6 separate regions of the Homo sapiens genome follow, and regions 2, 3, 4, 5 and 6 are each linked to region 1. Evidence: promoter capture Hi-C in human tissues and cell types (Jung and others, 2019). All regions are on one chromosome and are shown on one strand. The core of a region is centred on a gene start or on the middle of the fragment in contact, and the rest is flanking DNA. Distances in the headings are between cores, read along the strand shown.

The links. The method cuts DNA at HindIII sites, captures the fragments that hold promoters and counts their contacts. A contact is called where the count stands out against the background at its distance.
Region 2: a contact is called between a fragment that was not itself captured here and the fragment with the promoter of CPNE1 in region 1, in 1 of the 25 tissues and cell types used here (dorsolateral prefrontal cortex).
Region 3: a fragment that was not itself captured here is called in contact with the fragment with the promoter of CPNE1 in region 1 in 2 of the 25 tissues and cell types used here (dorsolateral prefrontal cortex and lymphoblastoid cells).
Region 4: a contact is called between a fragment that was not itself captured here and the fragment with the promoter of CPNE1 in region 1, in 1 of the 25 tissues and cell types used here (mesenchymal stem cells).
Region 5: a contact is called between a fragment that was not itself captured here and the fragment with the promoter of CPNE1 in region 1, in 2 of the 25 tissues and cell types used here (IMR-90 fibroblasts and lymphoblastoid cells).
Region 6: a contact is called between a fragment that was not itself captured here and the fragment with the promoter of CPNE1 in region 1, in 1 of the 25 tissues and cell types used here (dorsolateral prefrontal cortex).

The regions. Positions count from the first base shown.
Region 1 is chr20:35,663,504-35,666,452 of GRCh38, reverse strand. CPNE1 (copine 1) reads left to right here and starts at 1,553. Exons shown (of 16, transcript NM_152925.3): 1 at 1,553-1,693. It overlaps RBM12 (RNA binding motif protein 12), which reads left to right and starts at 1,553. Exons shown (of 3, transcript NM_006047.6): 1 at 1,553-1,693. RefSeq lists enhancers at 1,585-1,634, 1,216-1,720, 1,905-2,014, 2,335-2,384, 2,225-2,730 and 1 more and a silencer at 1,692-1,986. The HindIII fragment of the contact is 6,796 bases long and covers 1-2,949 here.
Region 2 is chr20:36,052,616-36,055,695 of GRCh38, reverse strand. No RefSeq gene overlaps it. Among named protein-coding and RNA genes, the nearest start is that of NORAD, 3.2 kb to the right of the region's middle. RefSeq lists an enhancer at 1,314-1,493. The HindIII fragment of the contact is 6,332 bases long and covers 1-3,080 here.
Region 3 is chr20:36,085,637-36,088,709 of GRCh38, reverse strand. No RefSeq gene overlaps it. Among named protein-coding and RNA genes, the nearest start is that of NORAD, 36 kb to the right of the region's middle. The HindIII fragment of the contact is 7,451 bases long and covers 1-3,073 here.
Region 4 is chr20:35,983,578-35,986,351 of GRCh38, reverse strand. CNBD2 (cyclic nucleotide binding domain containing 2) reads right to left here. Exons shown (of 12, transcript NM_001365709.1): 5 at 2,214-2,370; 6 at 1,574-1,725. Among named protein-coding and RNA genes, the nearest start is that of CNBD2, 16 kb to the right of the region's middle. The HindIII fragment of the contact is 7,254 bases long and covers 1-2,774 here.
Region 5 is chr20:35,928,299-35,931,096 of GRCh38, reverse strand. The region is part of intron 14 of PHF20 (PHD finger protein 20); the gene reads right to left. It also overlaps the pseudogene RNU6-937P. Among named protein-coding and RNA genes, the nearest start is that of SCAND1, 25 kb to the left of the region's middle. The HindIII fragment of the contact is 6,965 bases long and covers 1-2,798 here.
Region 6 is chr20:35,258,289-35,261,128 of GRCh38, reverse strand. The region is part of intron 2 of MMP24-AS1-EDEM2 (MMP24-AS1-EDEM2 readthrough); the gene reads left to right. The region is part of intron 4 of MMP24 (matrix metallopeptidase 24); the gene reads right to left. Among named protein-coding and RNA genes, the nearest start is that of MMP24-AS1-EDEM2, 18 kb to the left of the region's middle. The HindIII fragment of the contact is 5,720 bases long and covers 1-2,840 here.

The DNA of each region.
Region 1 (2,949 bases), core at 304-2,803:
AAGCGGCTTGAGAACAGCTTTCTTTTTTTTTTTTTTTGAGATGTAGTCTCGCTCTCCTGATGGTCTCCATCCCCTGACCTCGTGATCCTCCCACCTCGGCTTCCCAAAGTGCTGGGATTACAGGCGTAAGCCACCACGCCCAGCCAGAGAATAGCTTTTTCTATAATAAAATAATACTATAGTGAAGCCGTGGAGGGGTCACGATGGATTTAATTTTTTTTTTTTTTTTGAGACGGAATCTTGCTCTGTCGCCTAGGCTGGAGTGCTATGGCGTTATCTTGGCTCACTGTAACCGCCACCTCCCGGATTCAGGCGATTCTCCTGCCTCAGCCACCCTGGTAGCTGGGACCACAGGCGCCAGCCAGCACGCCCAGCTAATGTTTGTATTTTTAGTAGAGACGAGGTTTCGCCATGTTGGCCATGCTGGTCTTGAACCCCTGACCTCAGGTAATCCGCCCGCCTCGGCTTCCCAAAATGCTGGGATTACAGGCGTGAGCCACTGCGCCCTGCCCTAGATTAAAACTCTTTTTTTGTTTTTTTTTCTGAGACGAAGTTTCGCTTTTGTCATCCAGGGTGGAGTGCAATGGCGCCATCTGGGCTCACTGCAACCTCCACCTCCCGGGTTCAAGCGATTCTCCTGCCTCAGCCTCCCAAGTAGCTGGGACCACAAGCACCGCCACCACACCCAGCTAGTTTTTGTATTTTTAGTAGAGGCTGGGTTTTGCCTTGTTGGCCAGACCGGTCTCGAACTCCTGACCTCATGATCCGCCCTTCTCGGACTCCCAAAGTGCTGGGATTATAGGCGTGAGCCACCGCGCTCGGCCTGTATAAACTTTTTTTTTTTTTTTTTTTTTTTTTGAGATGGAGTCTTGCTCTTTCGCCCAGGCCGGAGTGCAGTGGCGCAATCTCGGCTCACTGCAAGCTCCGCCTCCCAGGTTCACGCTATTCTCCTGCCTCAGCCTCCCGAGTAGCTGGGACTACAGGTGCCCGCCACCACGCCCGGCTAATTTTTTGTATTTTTTAGAAGAGACGGGGTTTCACCGTGTTAGCCAGGATGGTCTCGATCTCCCGACCTCGTGATCCGCCCGCCTCGGCCTCCCAAAGTGCTGGGATTACAGGCGTGAGCCACCGCGCCCGGCCCCCGGCCTGTATAAACTCTTAAATGGGAAAAAAGAATCAGGTTTTGGCTGTTTTGTCAGGATATAATAACTAGCCACCACGTTGTGGTCCATTTAATCCTCAAAAAACTTAGAGGTAAGCACAATTCGCTCCTTCCGCGGAAACTGGAAGACGTGAAGCAATTTGCACAGTCTTGCAGTGAAGGGCCAAGCTAGACACTCATACCCAGCCCACCCGCCAGGGCCACTAGCCCAAGGTCGGTCCTGTGCGCCAACAGTCGCAAGCAGGGACTGAATATCCCCCTCTTAGCACAAAACCCAGTAACTTCCGGGAGATCGCCCGAGACCGTCAGCGCGCTTGCGCGGCCCCTTGACGTCAACCACGCCGTTCCTCCCCCTTCTGGAACGCGGAGCCGCTGAGCGGGCCGACGGCCATTTTGTGAAGCGGCGAAGGAGGTGGTGGCTGCGTTGGGCTCCGGGAAGCCGTTCGGGCTGGGGCTGTCGGCCGCGGGGCGGAGGCACTCGCGCGGGGGGTAATTCGGGGTCTGGGTTCTGGTGCCGCGCAGCTTTCCCCGGTAAGACTCCCGCAGCCCCTGAACGGGTGGGGCTGTGCGGGGCTCGTGGTGCCCCTTGGTGGCCCGGGGCGGGGCCTTCGGAGGCCTTCGAGCCCGCGGCAACTAGCGCCCCACACAAAGGGTCGAGGCAGGGCTGCAGGGGGAGTGGGATGCCACTTAGGCCTCTGAGATCTGAGAGGATGCAAGGAGGACGCAAGAGGATGAGCCTGCGTACCGAAGTGGGGACGAGGCCATAGCGAGGACTCCCCCGTGGTCTGAGAGGGGGCAGGCCAGAGCTGGCTGGCTCAGCGGCCTGCGAGCTAACGGGGACTGCAGTAAAAACACGCCTACATCCCGAGTACGGAGGATTTCTTGTCTCCCCCAGTGAAGCAGAGGTTATAACTACATCTCTGTGCCTGGAGGTGGGGAGATAATCGTAGTGAGGACACTCCTTCAACCCGAAATGGAAAGGAGGCCTTTGTGGCCTACCAGCAAAAGGGGACCCAGGTCACACCTGTGGGGAGGAAGCTGTAGTCGGTACACTCCTGTGAGTTCAGAAAGGAAGTGTCACAACCGGCCGCCTTCGTGGCCTGAAGGTGGAGGGGTTTGCAGTGAAATGCCTCCGAGGTCCATTGCTGGGGAGGGGCTTTACTCGAGGGTGTAGCAGTTTTGAGAAGCCGGCGTCTGAAGCTAGGAGGTGAGGGGGTGGGGTGAGTACGCCTCCTGAGGCTCTGAGAATTGTAGTAAGATGCCAGGCCTTTGGTCCCCCAGTAGGGAAGGGGCTGCTGTGAGCAGCACATTTACGGCTCCCTCGGGAGAGGATCCTGTGGCATTTCAGGAGGACGAGATCCAGTGGGCTGCGGAGGGTGGGTGCTTTTGATGGAGAGTTAATTGAGTTTCTCTGAAGCTTGGCTGCATTAGTTTGCAGCCACGTGAATTGGGTGGTGGGAGGGACTTTGAGGATCTACAGGTTAGTGACGGGGTTGGACGCCAGTGCAGCAGGCTTAGCTGCTAGGTTGTAAACGTACGGGCTTTTTGTGTGCCTCCAACGTGTGCTTTATAGTGACAAATCTGAGGGGCTCTTGTGAGGGTTACTCAGTATTAAGTGCTAAACATTTACTCATCTGCGTGGTGTCATGCTGAGAATTGCAGACTTTAAGAGATTTCTGGGCCCTAAAACCCTCCTTGGCTCCAGGATTCTCAGAGATAACCTAATATAAATTGAAGAAGTTGGTAGGGACCGTTTTATATTATTCAATAATAGAGTCAGTATAACC
Region 2 (3,080 bases), core at 406-2,905, 390 kb before region 1:
AAGGAACAGCAAGGAGACTAGCGTGGCTGGCATATAACGAGACAGGGAGAGAGTGGCTCAAGATGGGGCATGAAGCTGGGGGCAGTGGCTAATGCCTAAAGTCCCAGCACTTTGGGAGGCCGGGACGGGCTGGGGAGGGTGGATGGCTTGAGCTCAGTTCAAGACCAGCCTGGGCAACATGGCAAAACCCTCTCTCTACAAGAAATATAAAAATTAGCTGGGCATGGTGGCGTGTGTCTATAGTCCTAGCTACTTGGGAGTCTGAGGCAGGAGGATCACCTGAGCCCAGGGAGGACGAGGCTGTAGTGAGCCATAATCACACCACTGCACTGCACTGCACTGCAGCCTGGGTGACAGATTGAGATCCTTCTCAAACAAAAACAAAAAAAAAAACAAAGATGAGGCACGAGGGACACAAAGGGCAGGTCAAAGGGCAGGTCATGGAAGGCAGTGGTCGTGGAAATAAGTTTGATTTTGTTCTAAGTGTGATGAAAAGCCACTGAAGGCTTAAACAGGAGAGTTATAAGATCTGATTTTTGATTAAAAGTTCATTCTGGCTTCTGTAGGGAGAACGGATTAGAAAGGGAGAGCAGTAGAAACCAGAACAACAACAATTAAGGGGCTATTAGAGTCATCCAAATGAAAGACGTTGCTAGCTTGGATTTGGATACAGATCAGCACTGTCAATGGGACTTCCTGGGATGGTGGGAACATTCTCCACCTGTGCTCATATGGTAGCCACTGGCTCCTAGTTCCCTGTGACTCTTGAGCACTTGGAATGAGGGTGGTGTGGCTGAAGAACTGAATTTTTAATTTCATGTCATTCTAATGAATTACAATTTAAATAGGCACACGTAGCTAGTGGCTACTATAATGGACAGCACAGGGAATTGGCTGTATTTGAAATATATTTAGGAGGCAGATAGGACTGGGGATGGTTGCCGTGTGGGAAGTGAGAGAATGGGGAATCAAGGGAGATCGAGAATTACTTGGTGTATTAGTCCATTTTCACGCTGCTGATAAAGACATACCCGAGTCTGGGAAGAAAAAGAGGTTTAATCGGACTTACATTTCCACATGGCTGGGGAGGTCTCAGAATCATGGCAGGAGGTGAAAGGCACTTCTTACACAGCAGCAGCAAGAGAAAATGAGAAAGATGCAAAAGCGGAAACCCCTGATAAAACCATCAGATCTCATGAGACTTATTCACTACCATGAGAACAGTATGAGGGAACCACCCCATGACTCAAATTATCTCCCACTGGGTCCCTCCCATAACGTGTGGGAATTATAGGAGTACAATTCAAGATGAGATTTGGATGGAGACACAGCCAAACCATATTACTTGGGAAACAGGTGGATGATACTGCCATTTACTGATAGGGAAGAGCAGGCTCTGGGGAGATACCAAGAGTTTTGTTTTGCACAAGAGGAGTTTCAGATACTGTTGGAACATTCAAGTAGAGCTATCAGGTAGAAAGCAGAATGTATGCTGAGCACAGTGGCTCATGCCTGTAATCTCAGCACTTTGGGAGGCCGAGGTGGGCGGATCATGAGGTCAAGAGTTCCAGACCAGCCTGGCCAACATGGTGAAATCCCATCCCTACTAAGAATACAAAAATTAAAGGGATGTGGTGGCACGTGCCTGTAATCCCAGTTACTCAGGAGGCTGAGTCAGGAGAATCGCTTGAACCTGGGAGGCGAGGGTTGCAGGGAGCCGAGATCACACCACTTCACTCCAGCCCAGACACAGCAAGACTGCGTCTCGGAAAAAAAATAATAAAAGAAAAAGAAAAAGAAAGCAGGATGTATACATGTTTTTCATCATCCTCATCTTTAGGTTCCAGGAATACCCACATGTTTGGCTGCTTAGGCGGTGGGAAGCTCAGAAAGGGGACCAGGAGCCTCTCCTACTCCTTGTCTTGGCTAATGTATCAACTACCAAACTACCCATTAGCGCTAGTGTTTGAAACTTGTATAATCCATGGCTCTTCCTTCCCCTCCTCCCTCTTCTCTCAGGTATTCAGCCCACTGGCTTCTTCTCTTGAAATGCTAGAAACACTCACTTCACCGGTTTTCTACTTCTGTGCAACTCTCCTGGCTCAGGGCCTTGTCATCTCATTGTGGACTAGAGCCCCTGGACTTCTCGCCACCTCTCCTGTCCACCTTCCACCAGCAAGGCCTTTCTGACTGCAGGATTTTCCTCCTGGGAATCATGTCTGAGTCTGCATCAAGAGTCTTAATCCTTTGATCTTTCTTTACATTTCCAGAATTGTATCCAAAGGAACTCAGGGCCAGTGGTGGTAGCTCATGCTTGTACTCCCAGCACTTTGGGAAGCCGAGGCAGGTGGATCACCTGAGGTCAGGAGTTTGAAACCAGCCTGGCCAACACAGTGAAATCTCATCTATACTAAAAATACAAAAATTAGCTGGGCATGGTGGCACACGTTTGTAGTCCCAGCTACTTGGGAGGCTGAAGCAGGAGAATCATTTGAACTCAGGAGTTGGAGGTTGCAGTGGGCCGAGATGGCACCACTGCACTCCAGCCTGGATGACAGAGCGAGACCCTGTCTCAAACATAAATAAATAAATAAATAATTTTAAAAATAATAAAAATGCAGGCCAGGTGCGGTGGCTCACACCTGTAATCCCAGCACTTTGGGAGGCGAAGGTGGGTGGATCACCTGAGGTCACAAGTTCGAGACCAGCCTGACCAACAGGGTAAAACCCCGTCTCTACTAAAAATACAAAAAATTAGCCTGGCCTGGTGGCGAGTGCCTGTAATCCCAGCTACTTGGGAGGCTGAGGCAGGAGAATCACTTGAACCCAGGAGGTGGAGGTTGCAGTGAGTCAAGATCGCACCATTTCACTACAGCCTGGGCAACAGAGCAAGACTCTGCCTCAAAAAAAAAAAATAAAAATACAAATACAAACAAAGGAACTCAGAGGCTGGGGGCGGTGGCTCACGCCTGTAATCCCAGCACTTTGGGAGGCCAAGGCAGGTGGATCACGAGGTCAGAAGTTCGAGACCAGCCTGGCCAACATGGTGAAACCCCCGTCTCTACTCAAAAATACAAAAA
Region 3 (3,073 bases), core at 255-2,754, 420 kb before region 1:
CAGGAGTTCGAGACCAGCCTCGCCAACATGGTGAAACCCCGTCTCTACTAAAATACAAAATTAGCTGGGCGTGGTGGCACATGCCTGTAATCCCAACTATTTGGGAGGCTGAATGTCTTGAATCTGGGAGGTGGAGGTTGCAGTGAGCCAAGATCACACCACTGCGCTCCAGCCTAGGCAGCAAGAGTGAAACTCTGTCTAAAAAAAAAAAAAAACAAAAAGGGGCCAAGTGTGATGGCTCACACCTGTAATCCCAGCACTTTGGGAGGCCGAGGCAGGCAGATCACCTGAGGCCAGGAGTTTGAGACCAACCTGGCCAGCATGGTGAAACCCTGTCTCTACTAACAACACAAAAAAATTAGCCAGGCTTGGTGGCTCATGCCTGTAAGTCCCAGCTACTCGGGAGGCTGAGACATGAGAATTGCTGAACCTGGGAGGCGGAGGTTGCAGTGAGCTGAGATTGTACCACTGCACTCTAGCCTGGGCAACACAGTGAGACTCGGTCTCAAAAAAAAAAAAAAAAAAAAGAGAATTCCATCACATCACCTCCAGTGGGGGGATATCCAGGAAGACAATTTCAGCTCACTATAAAGAACTCCCTAACAGTTGGAGCTACCCAAGAATGGAATGGACCACCTTGGGAGTGATGAACTCCTTGTCAATATATGTATTCAAGGAAAGATTAAGTCTTCATTGGGAAATTGAACTAGGATCCTGGTGACCTCTCAAGTTGAAAAAATGGGCAAGTTCTATTAGGAAGGGAAAGACAAGATCAAAGCTGTGCTTCCAGACAATTATGTGACTGTATGTGTAGAAGAAATGGGTGGGGAGGGATCAGAGGCAGGCAGGACCAGTAGGAAACCACTGCAGTGGTCCAGGAGATAAAAGAATAGACTGGGGCTGGGCACGGTGATTCATGCCTGTAATCCCAGCACTTTGGGAGGCCGAGGAGGGTGGATCACAAGGTCAGGAGTTCAAGACCAGCCTGGCAAACATGGTGAAACCCTGTCTCTACTAAAAATACAAAAAAATTAGCCAGGCATGGTGGTGGGTGCCTGTAATCCCAGCCACTTGGGAGGCTGAGGCAGAGAATTGCTTGAACCCGGGAGGCGGAGGTTGCAGTGAGCCGAGATCACACCACTGCACTCCAGCCTGGGCGACAGAGCGAAACTCGTCTCAAAACAAAACAAAACAAAACAAAAAACAAAAAAAAAGAATAGACTGGGAGGCCATGGGAATGGAAAGCCAATGCAAGTGTGACTTGAAAGAGGCACTGGCACTAGGCTGGTAGTCAGGAGCTGCAGGTTCTAGTCCTGCCCCTGCCATTAACTTATTGTGTAGTCTCAGGTAAATCCCAGCCCTTGAGTAGATCCCTTCCTTTATTCAAATTTCAGAGATCCCATCTGTAAAATGCAGAATGATCTGCAATATCCTTCCTAACTCTGGATTCTGTGAATGGGAGAGAGATAATGAAGGATAACTGGGATGATGTATTAGAAAGCCTTCATACACTTCAAAGTAATAATATCATTAGTACAAGTACCATTGTTATTATTATTTCAAAGGCAGCCTCACCAGAACGTGGTGACTGGACTGGTAGGAGGGGACAGGACAGAGTCAAGTGGCCTGCATCTGTGGGTGGACAAGACACCAGGATCTCTGATCTTTTGGGAAGGTCAGCTAACCACTGTATCCCTCCCCCAAGATCTGTGAAGACAAACAGTATTCTGTGCCCTGTCACCTCATTAACTGCTTCCTCATTCCTTTGAGCCACACCTTATACTTGGCTAAAAGAAGCAACCAATTCTAAGAAAAGTTAGCCTCTGTACTCCCTCCTTTCAATGTTCAAAAATGGGTCCTCGTCTGGGACTTTCCCTATATAATAATAAGTTTCATCATCTCATATAGGAATAGCCAACATTATTGAGTACTTAGTATATGTTAGGAAATTTATTTACATAATTTTCTCACCCTGGGAGGTAGCTGTAATGGCTTATGAAGATCTATAACTTTCTCAGTCACATAGCTTATGAGAAGGATTCCAGTACAAGTCTGTGCGATTTCAAGGCTGCATTCTTAAAGATTTTTTTTTTTTTTTTTTTTTGAAATGGAGTCTTGCTCCATCACCCTGGCTGGAGTGCAGTAGCACTATCTTTGCCCACTGCAACCTCCATCTCCCGGGTTCAAGCGATTCTCATGTCTCAGCCTCCCAAGTAGCTGGGATTACAGGTGCCTGCCACCATGCCTGGCTAATTTTTGTATTTTTAGTAGAGATGGGGTTTCACCATGTTGGCCAGGCTGGTCTCGAACTCTTAACCTCAGGTGATCTGCCTGCCTCAGCCTCCCAAAGTGCTGAGATTACAGCCGTGAGCCACCCTGCCCGGCACCCTAAAGATTTTTACTATGTCTTTTTGTAGCAACTTAGGGAGGAGGGCAAGATCAGTGTTGTTGCCACTTTATAGCTGGGGAAACTGAAGCTCAGAGAAGGTAAATTCTGTCATTTGGACAAATTAGTAAAGTCTTCTATGGTGCAGTTTGGTGCTGTTTCTACTTCTCAGAGCTTCCTCCTCTGCACCTTCCAGGACCTCCCCAGTCCTCCTAGGAGTGATGAGTAGAGACTTGCCCAGACTACTTAAGGGAAGGACTTACACTTGTCCTTCTCCTGGGGAAGGGAAAGGTTCCTGAAAGGTGAAAGTTAATTTCCACCTCCCCTCCCCACCCACCAACTCACACACCCTAAACCAGGACCTTGTGGTGACCCGCGCTGAAGGCTTACAGAGTGAGTCATGCGGGGCTGACCTGTCAGAGTCACCCAAGCACAAGATACTAAGCTTAGTTTAGAGGGGTGGAAAAGTAGGCAAAGTGCTCTCATCCTCAGGAGCACAGTCCACTTGCAGCTTGTGCCCCTCACTCCTTTCATCCCAAAATACTGCAAACATTTGGGAACACTGTACAAGGGCCTTAGAGCAGAGGGAACACATGACAAATAAGAGTGAGTCCAAGGAGTTGAGATTGGAGTGGAGCCTTAAAGAGTGAATTCAGCACACAAATTAGGTAGAAGGGCCCTCCAGGC
Region 4 (2,774 bases), core at 181-2,680, 320 kb before region 1:
CCACAGTATGGAAAAAAAAAACAGCTCCTCCCTTTAGGACTAAATCCCCACTTTTCCAGGGGATGAAGCTACCTCTCTCAGCCCCAGCCACAGGAACCAGACCCCTCGGCCATCACACTTCTCTGTAGCTGTGCAGCCCTACAGCCCAAATTTTCAGGGCCAGTGCAGATACTTCATTGGATTTTTATTCCTTTTACATAAAGGCAAATAACTGAAGAGCAATTAAATGAGATTTCACTTGCATATCCTTACGTGGCCTTTCATGCACATAAGTATTCAAAAACCAAAAATCTTTTGCTATGTATGAGTTCTGCTTTTAAATATGATACCCAGTTACGGTGCTTACTTTCTGACTCACATGTGATTGTAATTATTTATATCCTGTTATTCACCTTACTCAATATTTATTTGTTGAGCACCTGCATGTGTCTGGCAGTGTGACAACATAAGGATTATAGTAGTGACAAAGACAGATCTATCTGGTCTCTGTCACCATACTGCTTACTGTCTGAGGGGGTATATAAACTGTAAAGAAATTACCATGCAATCAAGAATTATAGTTTGGGCCAGGCGCAGTGGCTTACGCCTGTAATCCCAGCACTTTGGGAGGCCAAGGTAGTCAGATCACTTGAGGCCAGGAGTTCAACACCACCCTGGCCAACATAGTGAAACCCCATCTCTACTAAAAATACAAAAAAGTTAGCTGGGAGTGATGGTGTATGACTGTAATTCCAGCTATGTGGGAGGCTGAGGCAGGAGAATTGCTTGAACCCAGGAGGCGGAGGTTGCAGTGAGATGAGATCATGCCACTGCACTCCAGCCTGGGCAACAGAGCAAGACCCTCTCTCAAAAAAAAAAAAAAAAGGAATTATAGTTTTATAGTTTGGGCTGAGCATGGGGGCTCATGTCTGTAATCCCAGCACTTTAGGAGGCCAAAGTGGCAGGATCACTTGAGACCAGGAGTTCAAGACCAGCCTGGGCAACATAACAAGATTCCATCTCTACAAATAATAGAACAATTAGCTGGATGTGGCAGCACACCTACAGTCCTAGCTACTAGGACCACACTCTGTTGCCCAGGCTGGAGTGCAGTGATGCGATCACAACTCACCACAGCCTCGAACTCCTGGGCCCAAGTGATCCTCCCACCTCAGCCTCCCAAGTAGCTGAAACTATAGGTATGTGCCACCACACCCAGCTAATTTTTTTTAATTTTTTATTTTGTAGGGACAGGATTTCACTATGTTGTCCAGGCTGGTCTTGAACTCCTGGGTTCAGGGATCCTCCCACCTTGGCCTCCTAAAGTGCTGGGATTACAGGAGTGAGCCACTGTGCCCAGTCCCGTGTTAGCTATTCTTACTATTACTTTCAATAAAGAAGGGATATTTGAGCTGAGACCCGAAGGGATAGTAGGAGTCTGCAGAGAGAGAAGGTGGGTACGAGGTGGGACTTCAGAGCATCCCAGACAGAGAGAACAGCAACCAGTATGTTTCCCACCAGGCCTAGGACAGACAAAGTCAGGCAGCTAATAAACACACAAGGGGAAAAAAATGTTGAATGAAGGCAGAGTTACCTAAAAAATTCAAACCGATACTGAGCATCCTTCTGAACTTCCTGGTCCAGCTTATTAGCAAAGAAGTCCTCCCGGTCAACAACCAGGAACTCCGTTTCTTCCATACAGACGATGGTGGACCTCCTCACTGAAGCATGCAGAACGTCCATTTCCTGTTGGGTGGACAGGGCAAGGGCAAGTGTGAGGCCACCTCCACTTCCTGTCCTCAGCCTTACACACATCTTCCGTGCCTCCATCTTCCCCCTGAATTCTCTCCTCACCAGACTGTGTGTTCCCTAGCCTCCTCTATTCTCCTGCACATTCTCCCACTGGGGCCCACTCCCCTTCTTCTTAATCTGCTGCTTATGGAAAAAGAGGCAACAGACCTGAACAGGCCAGAGGGGAGGAAGCTGGAGAGGCCTCACTATGGAGTCACTTCATCTCTAAAGGGCTGTATCAGGAACATACTTCTTAAACATCACAGATGAAGAGGCTGATCTTAGTCCAACTCAATTAGCATTTGACAGGTAAGGGGCCCACACGGGACACTGACTTGTACAGAGTACTAGGCAGGACTGGGCCTGGCTGAGAGGTTCTAGCAGAAGTCCTGTCACCTCCACCCACTCCACCCCAGGAAACTGGGTCCTTCCCCTGGGCTTACCCCAAAACAGCTACCCTTGTGCAGCAATTTCGGGTGGGGATCTAGGAAGGCACTGCTGCCATCCTCGTCCTTGGTTATTGCAACTGTGCCCAGGTAGATGAAATAAAAGCTGTTGCCCTTCTGCCCCTTCTTGATGATCACACGCCTGCGACCAAACCTGGGAAAAGACCACTGCTAGTTGATTGGGTAGTGACATGGGGGCAGGTCCAAGCTGAGAGGAGCTCTGGACTGGTTGTGCTCTTTGCTTTGGGATATAAGAGCACAGACTTGGACCAGAAGGGCCCTCAGGACAGCCCAGCCCTGCCAGTCAAGCTGGAGCCTTTCACTAACACCTATCCCGTTGCCTGCCTCGGTTGAACTGAAGCTTCCTGAGAGCAGAGTCTTTGCCAGTCTGGGTCACTGCTGCGTGTGCTTGGGCACAGTGAATGTTCATTGAACATAGTGGAATAAATGAGTGAACACATGCTGAAAGCAATGAATGGGTTAGTAGAGTCACTAAATGATTAGGAGGACTGGCTTTAGCGTTAGCCCAGGATCCAAATCCTGGTTCTGCTCTTAGCT
Region 5 (2,798 bases), core at 6-2,505, 260 kb before region 1:
CCTACCATATGCTGGGCTCTCTATTAGGTAGTGGGGATAAGGTAGTGAATAAGGCATGTACTTCCTCATTTCCTGGAACTGGCCAGAGGTGAGCTGGGCACCTAGATTATCTCCAAATTTATATCATAATATTCTCTCCCCTACTTAAAACCTTCCACTGCCTCCTACTGCTCAAAGGAGAATACCCAAAGCCCCAACTCTCTAACTCTGGCTTACTGAGGCCCACAGGACCCAGTTCCTTCCTGTCTTCCCCTCCATACCTTTACACTGGCCTCATTTCAGTTTCTGAAACACATCAAACTCTTTCCAGCCTCAAGACCTTCACTTGCGCATCCCTTCTGTCTGCAGCACTATTCCCTAAGCCTTTGCAGGGTTGGCTCCTTACCACCTCCTCAGAAAGGCTTTTATTTTTTTCCTGCTTTGTTGGCAGGGTCTCACTCTGTTGCCCAGGCTACAGTGCAGTGGCATGATCATGGCTCACTGCAGCCTCAGCCTCCCTGGGCTCAGGTGATCCTCCCACCTCAGCCTCCCGAGTATCTGGGACTACAGGTGTGCACCACCATGCCTGGCTAATTTTTCTTTCTTTCTTTCATTTTTTTTTGATGGGGTTTTGCCATGTTGCCCAGGAGTGGGGCCTTCTGCTACTTCCCAAAGTTGAGAGCATCATCAGTGCCTCAAGTCGTCTTATCAATTTTCCCGTCACGGCATTCATCACTACCTTACACAGTCTTGTTTACTTAACTTGTTTTAACTTCTGTTTCTGGCTCCCAACCCAATTAAGAGCCGAAAGAGTAGGAACTATCTTGTTCATGGTTGTATCCCCAGTGCCTGGCAAAAGGCATCTTGAATGGACTTATCAAATGAATGGAAAGATGCCTCAAGTCCCCCTGCAAATGTACCTTCTACCACCTAACTCAACAGATGATCAGGCCCCTTCCCTTCTCTGTACCTGTTATCCATTCATTAGAACAACATAGGAACTGGATGGCTTCAGCCATCCTATTTGTTACAGGGCTCCTTAGGAAGGACTGAAAACAAAAGCACATGTGACTTATCAACATGACCTGCTCCAAAGTCCCAGGGAAAAGCTTTCTACCAGACTGTTGTTCGACTGTCAATATCTATAAAAACCTTGAAACACCCAGGTGATTCCTATTAAGGTCTTTGAGCTACTTCTGGCTTTACTAATACACATGGTGGGGATACACCTTGATTCTGTTAAAACTATTTTTAAGTAGCCTTTAAAAAACGAATCTGTTAAACTTTTGGTCCAGCCCTCTGCAGAGTCAGTCTATAAAGGTAGACCCTGTGGCAGACATGCTGTGCTCAGTTCAAGGAAGAGTCTATTCACAGTATTGGCGATTAAAGTCGTAGAAGTTCAGTAAGTGCACAGGATTTGATGAAGATGGTGTGTGTGACTTCTAAAGAAGGAAAAGTAGAGAGAAAGACACAGTAGGGAAAAAAAGATTTTTAAAAGGTATGCTAAGGAGCCTTCAGGAATATATGGGGGAACCCCAGAGGCAGCTGCTGCAGGCAGTGCCTAGAGCAGCAGGATTCAGAGCTGCACTACCTGTTTTACAAGGCAAAGGTATGAGACAACTGGTTCTCATCGCCTGTCTGGCATTAGCTGGTGGCGTGATCTTGGGCCAGTCATGTCCCTTCTGGACTTGTGTTTGTTCACCTGTCAAATCTTCTGACTATTCTTTCCTTGGGATAAAGGGACAAGTGGAGGCAGATGCTTCTAGTACAAGGAGACAGTGTCACAACAGAGGCCTTCAGGCCCAGAGGGGACCTGCATGCTGTTAAATGAACTGGTGGCCAGTCCCTCCCTAGACAACCAACAAAATCAAGAGATCTGGCTCTGCAAACCAGTTCTAATTCCAATTTGCTTTATGAGGAAAGTCAACTGTATCCTCAAGGATCAATTTCTTCCTCATAAGCAAAACTGGGAGTAGGAGAACCAGGCCCACCTTATCGGACAGAAAGGAGTAACGGAAGCAGAGGCTCTCAAGCACTGTCTAGCTCTAAAGGAATCAGGGGACTAGAGCTGAGGGAGAACCTTACAAGTGGTAATGGGAGACAATGTCACCATCCCATGGAAACCAAGACAATGAACTGCATATTTACAATCCACCCCTTCTAGAAAGGAGCAATCAAGAGCCACAGGTGACCCCTATAGCCATGGAACTAACTGATCCTGCTAAGGAATTAAGTCACTGCTCAGGGTGGCAACAGGCTCTACCCAACCATGCCTTCCTCCTTCCCCTCAAGGGCATTTCTCCCTTCAGGATGGCAGTGATGTGATGAAGGGCAGATGTTGCCACAGGGGGCAAAGGCAAGTTTCTAACCCTCCAATAGCCCCCAAAAGCCAAAGACAGAGCCCACACGCCCATCCTCATGAGTCCTCAAGAAAAGGAAAAGGTGCCACTTCGGCAGCACATACACTAAAACAGGAACAATACAGAGAAGATTAGCATGGCCCCTACACAAGGATGACACTCAAACTTGTGAAGTTTCTACATTTTTCTACACAGCTTCAATCAGGCAGGATGAAAGTTCTGGAGATCTGCTGTACGACATTGTGCTTATAGTTATTAACAACAATACTGTATTGTTGAGGGTAGATCTCATGCTTTTTTTTTTTTTTTTTTTTTTTTGAGACGAAGTTTCGCTCTTGTTGCCCTGGCTGGAGTGCACTGGCATGATCTCGGCTCACTGCAACCTCCGCCACCTGGGTTCAAGTGATTCTCCTGCCTCAGCCTCCCAAGTAGCTGGGGTTACAGGCGCCTGTCACCATG
Region 6 (2,840 bases), core at 339-2,838, 410 kb after region 1:
GGTAGGCTGTGGATCACCAGTCCTGACTCCTGTCTGCCCAGTGTCAGACCCTTGCTTGCCTTGACCTCTGGCATTTGTAGCCCCTTGAGCCCTGCCTCTTATCTTCTGGCCCTAAGGCATGGCTCGGCCCATTCCTGCCACCTGTAAGTCCAGGGAGGCTGCCAGGAACCTAGGAGGTGGTCTAGAGTCCTACTGCCCACTCTGGCCCCAGCGTCACTGGCCTAGGGACACATGGGGGTGGGGATTGTTTGGCCTTCCTGGCTTAGGTCTCTGGAAGAGAGAAGAACCCCATGGGGCAGACCCAGGCCACGGGCAGTACATGCCTCCCACACTACTGACACCGCCAGTGTCTTCTGTGAAGCCACCTTTGAGCAACGGAAAGGAAGGGGGATGGGCAAGATCAGTGCAAGGTTGGCCAAAAGCCTGGGGCTGGCCTTCTGCTGGCATGAGAGGGCCAGGCCGCCCCCAGCTCCTTACTCAGGTCCTGGCCCCTCTGGCAGCAGGGAAGGGTGAGCTCATCGCTGAGCTCCATCCCAAACAAACTGGTAGAGCCAGCGGAAGGCAGCTCTGCTTCCTGGGGTCCAGTCCTGGCTGTGCTCCTGGGCTATTCTATGACCTGGGACAAGCTGTTCAGGGCCTCTGTCTCCTGAGCAGGCTCTTCCCCAGGGGCTGTCCACAGGGAGCTCAGCTGGGAACCAGGGAACACGGCTCTGAGCACTGTGGGAGACTCAAAACCTTTGTCCGCAGCCTTGTCTCTTGCTCTTTTAACCCCTGTTCTGGGTCTGCAGAGAACAGGAGTGACCCCTTAAAGGAAAGAGGCCTGTGGTTTGGGTCCAGGAACCAAAAGGAAGGGAAGAGCGAGGGAGCCAGTATCCTGCTGCACAGAAACCCAAGAGAGCCCTGAGGGGGAGACAGAGGGAGCAGGGCAGGGGCAGGAGGACTCCCTGAGCTTGTGAGGTGAAGGCAGAGGTATGAGGAGGAGAGGCCTGCTATGAGGACCCCATGCTCCATGGGCAGGAGGCTGCTAGGGTCTTCACTCTTCAAGAGGGTGAGCGGCAGGGAAGCAGAGTGGTCAGGAATGCAGTCTCTGGGAGCCAGACTGCCTGGTTTTGAATCCCAGCTCTGCCATGTCCTAGCAGTGTGACATTTTAAATTCTTCCTCTGGAAGATAGAAGGAACAATGGCACCTTCGTCATAGGGATGTGGGTGAAGATTCATGGGGCAGGGTGTGTAATGCGCTGATACCAGCTCCTGGTACAGAAGTATTACCCTTCATTAGCAGGGTCCTGTTGAGCTGTGTGTGAGCACCAGCACCCCTGATAGGGTGTGTTCCTGTAAGTCCCTGGGCCTCCGAGCAAGTCCCCAGCAGTCTACTCGGCTACTCAAGTGGACCTTGTCTCTGCCTCATTTCTTTCTTTTAGGATCTCCATATTTGGTCGTTCCCATCTCATTAACTCCCCCAGCCCCACGAAAGGTGATAGCATTTCCCTTTGCCTCTGTTCTTCTGCCAGTGCTGCCCCTTCCCCTGGAATAACCTGATTCCTTCAAAGTTCAGCTCCATGCCTGTCTTCCAGGAAGCCTTCCATGACTTCCCAGCTGGCAGTGAGTGCTCCTTCTGCTGTGCCCTCCCAGCAGTTTCCCTGAACTGCCTTTATGGCACTGACCGCTTCCTCCCCACGTGATTGCCACTAGTGCACATGCTCGCTGCCCCAGGACTGTGGGTTCCTTGAGGACAAGCTTTGTGTTGAAGAACCAGGTGACAGCCCCCGGAATGGAACAGCGCCAAAAGCACCGTATTTTACCAAGGGAAATACTCGGACCACCTGCAGCAGAACCACCTGTGGTGACTTAAAAATGCGGAGTCCTGGGGTCACACCTGGCTCTGCCACTTTCCAAAGGGGTGAATTTCCTATTTTTTTAAAAAGTATTTTCTTTCTTTTTTATTTTTGAGACAGGATCTCACTCTGTCACCCAGGTTGGAGTGTAGTGGTGCAATCTCGGCTCACTTGAACCTCCGCCTCCCGGGTTCAAGCCATTCTCCTGCCTCAGCCTCCCGAGTAGCTGGGATTACAGGCATGTGCCACCACACCCGGCTAATTTTTGTATTTTTAGTAGAGACGGGGTTTTGCCATGTTGGCCAGGCTGGTCTCGAACTCCTGACCTCAGGTGATCTGCCCCCCCTCGGCCTCCCAAAGTGCTGGGATTACTCCAGTGCTCCCATCGCACCTGGCCCGGGGAGCCTTTTAAACACATGGAGGAGGTGGGGAAGATATTCTGATTCAGGAGGTTTGGTTTGGGACGTAGGCAATCTTTTTTGTTGTTTTTTTTTTTTAAGTTCTCCAGGTGAATTGTATAATGGTTGGGTCAGGCTGACACAACCTGAAGCAAATGCTCGACCTCAACATCACTAAAAGTGGGACAGTCTGCATCATATGTATTTGCTAATATGGTGAATAGGAAGTACCAGCACCACCTAGGAAGTATTCTTGCCAAAAAAATTGAACTTGAATCTAGTCAGCCTGTAAATCTAATGAACAACATTCAGGAATTATGGGCAAGAGAGACGTATTAAAAGTAAACTTGATTCTAGTCACGCCAAATGATTATACTCGGGACACCTGACCCAGTTTCTTCAACAAATATATGGAGGGAAACGTGTGTGTAGGACGGGGGTGTTTTAAATAAAAAGGGCTTTAAGAGACATGTCAGCCATGTGTGTGTGGATCTTGTTTGGATCCTGATTCAAGCAAACAACTGTAAAAGACATTTCCAAGGTACTTTGGGAAAGTGAACTCGAACTGGGTATTAGATTTTAAAAAATTATTGTTAATTTTGTTGGG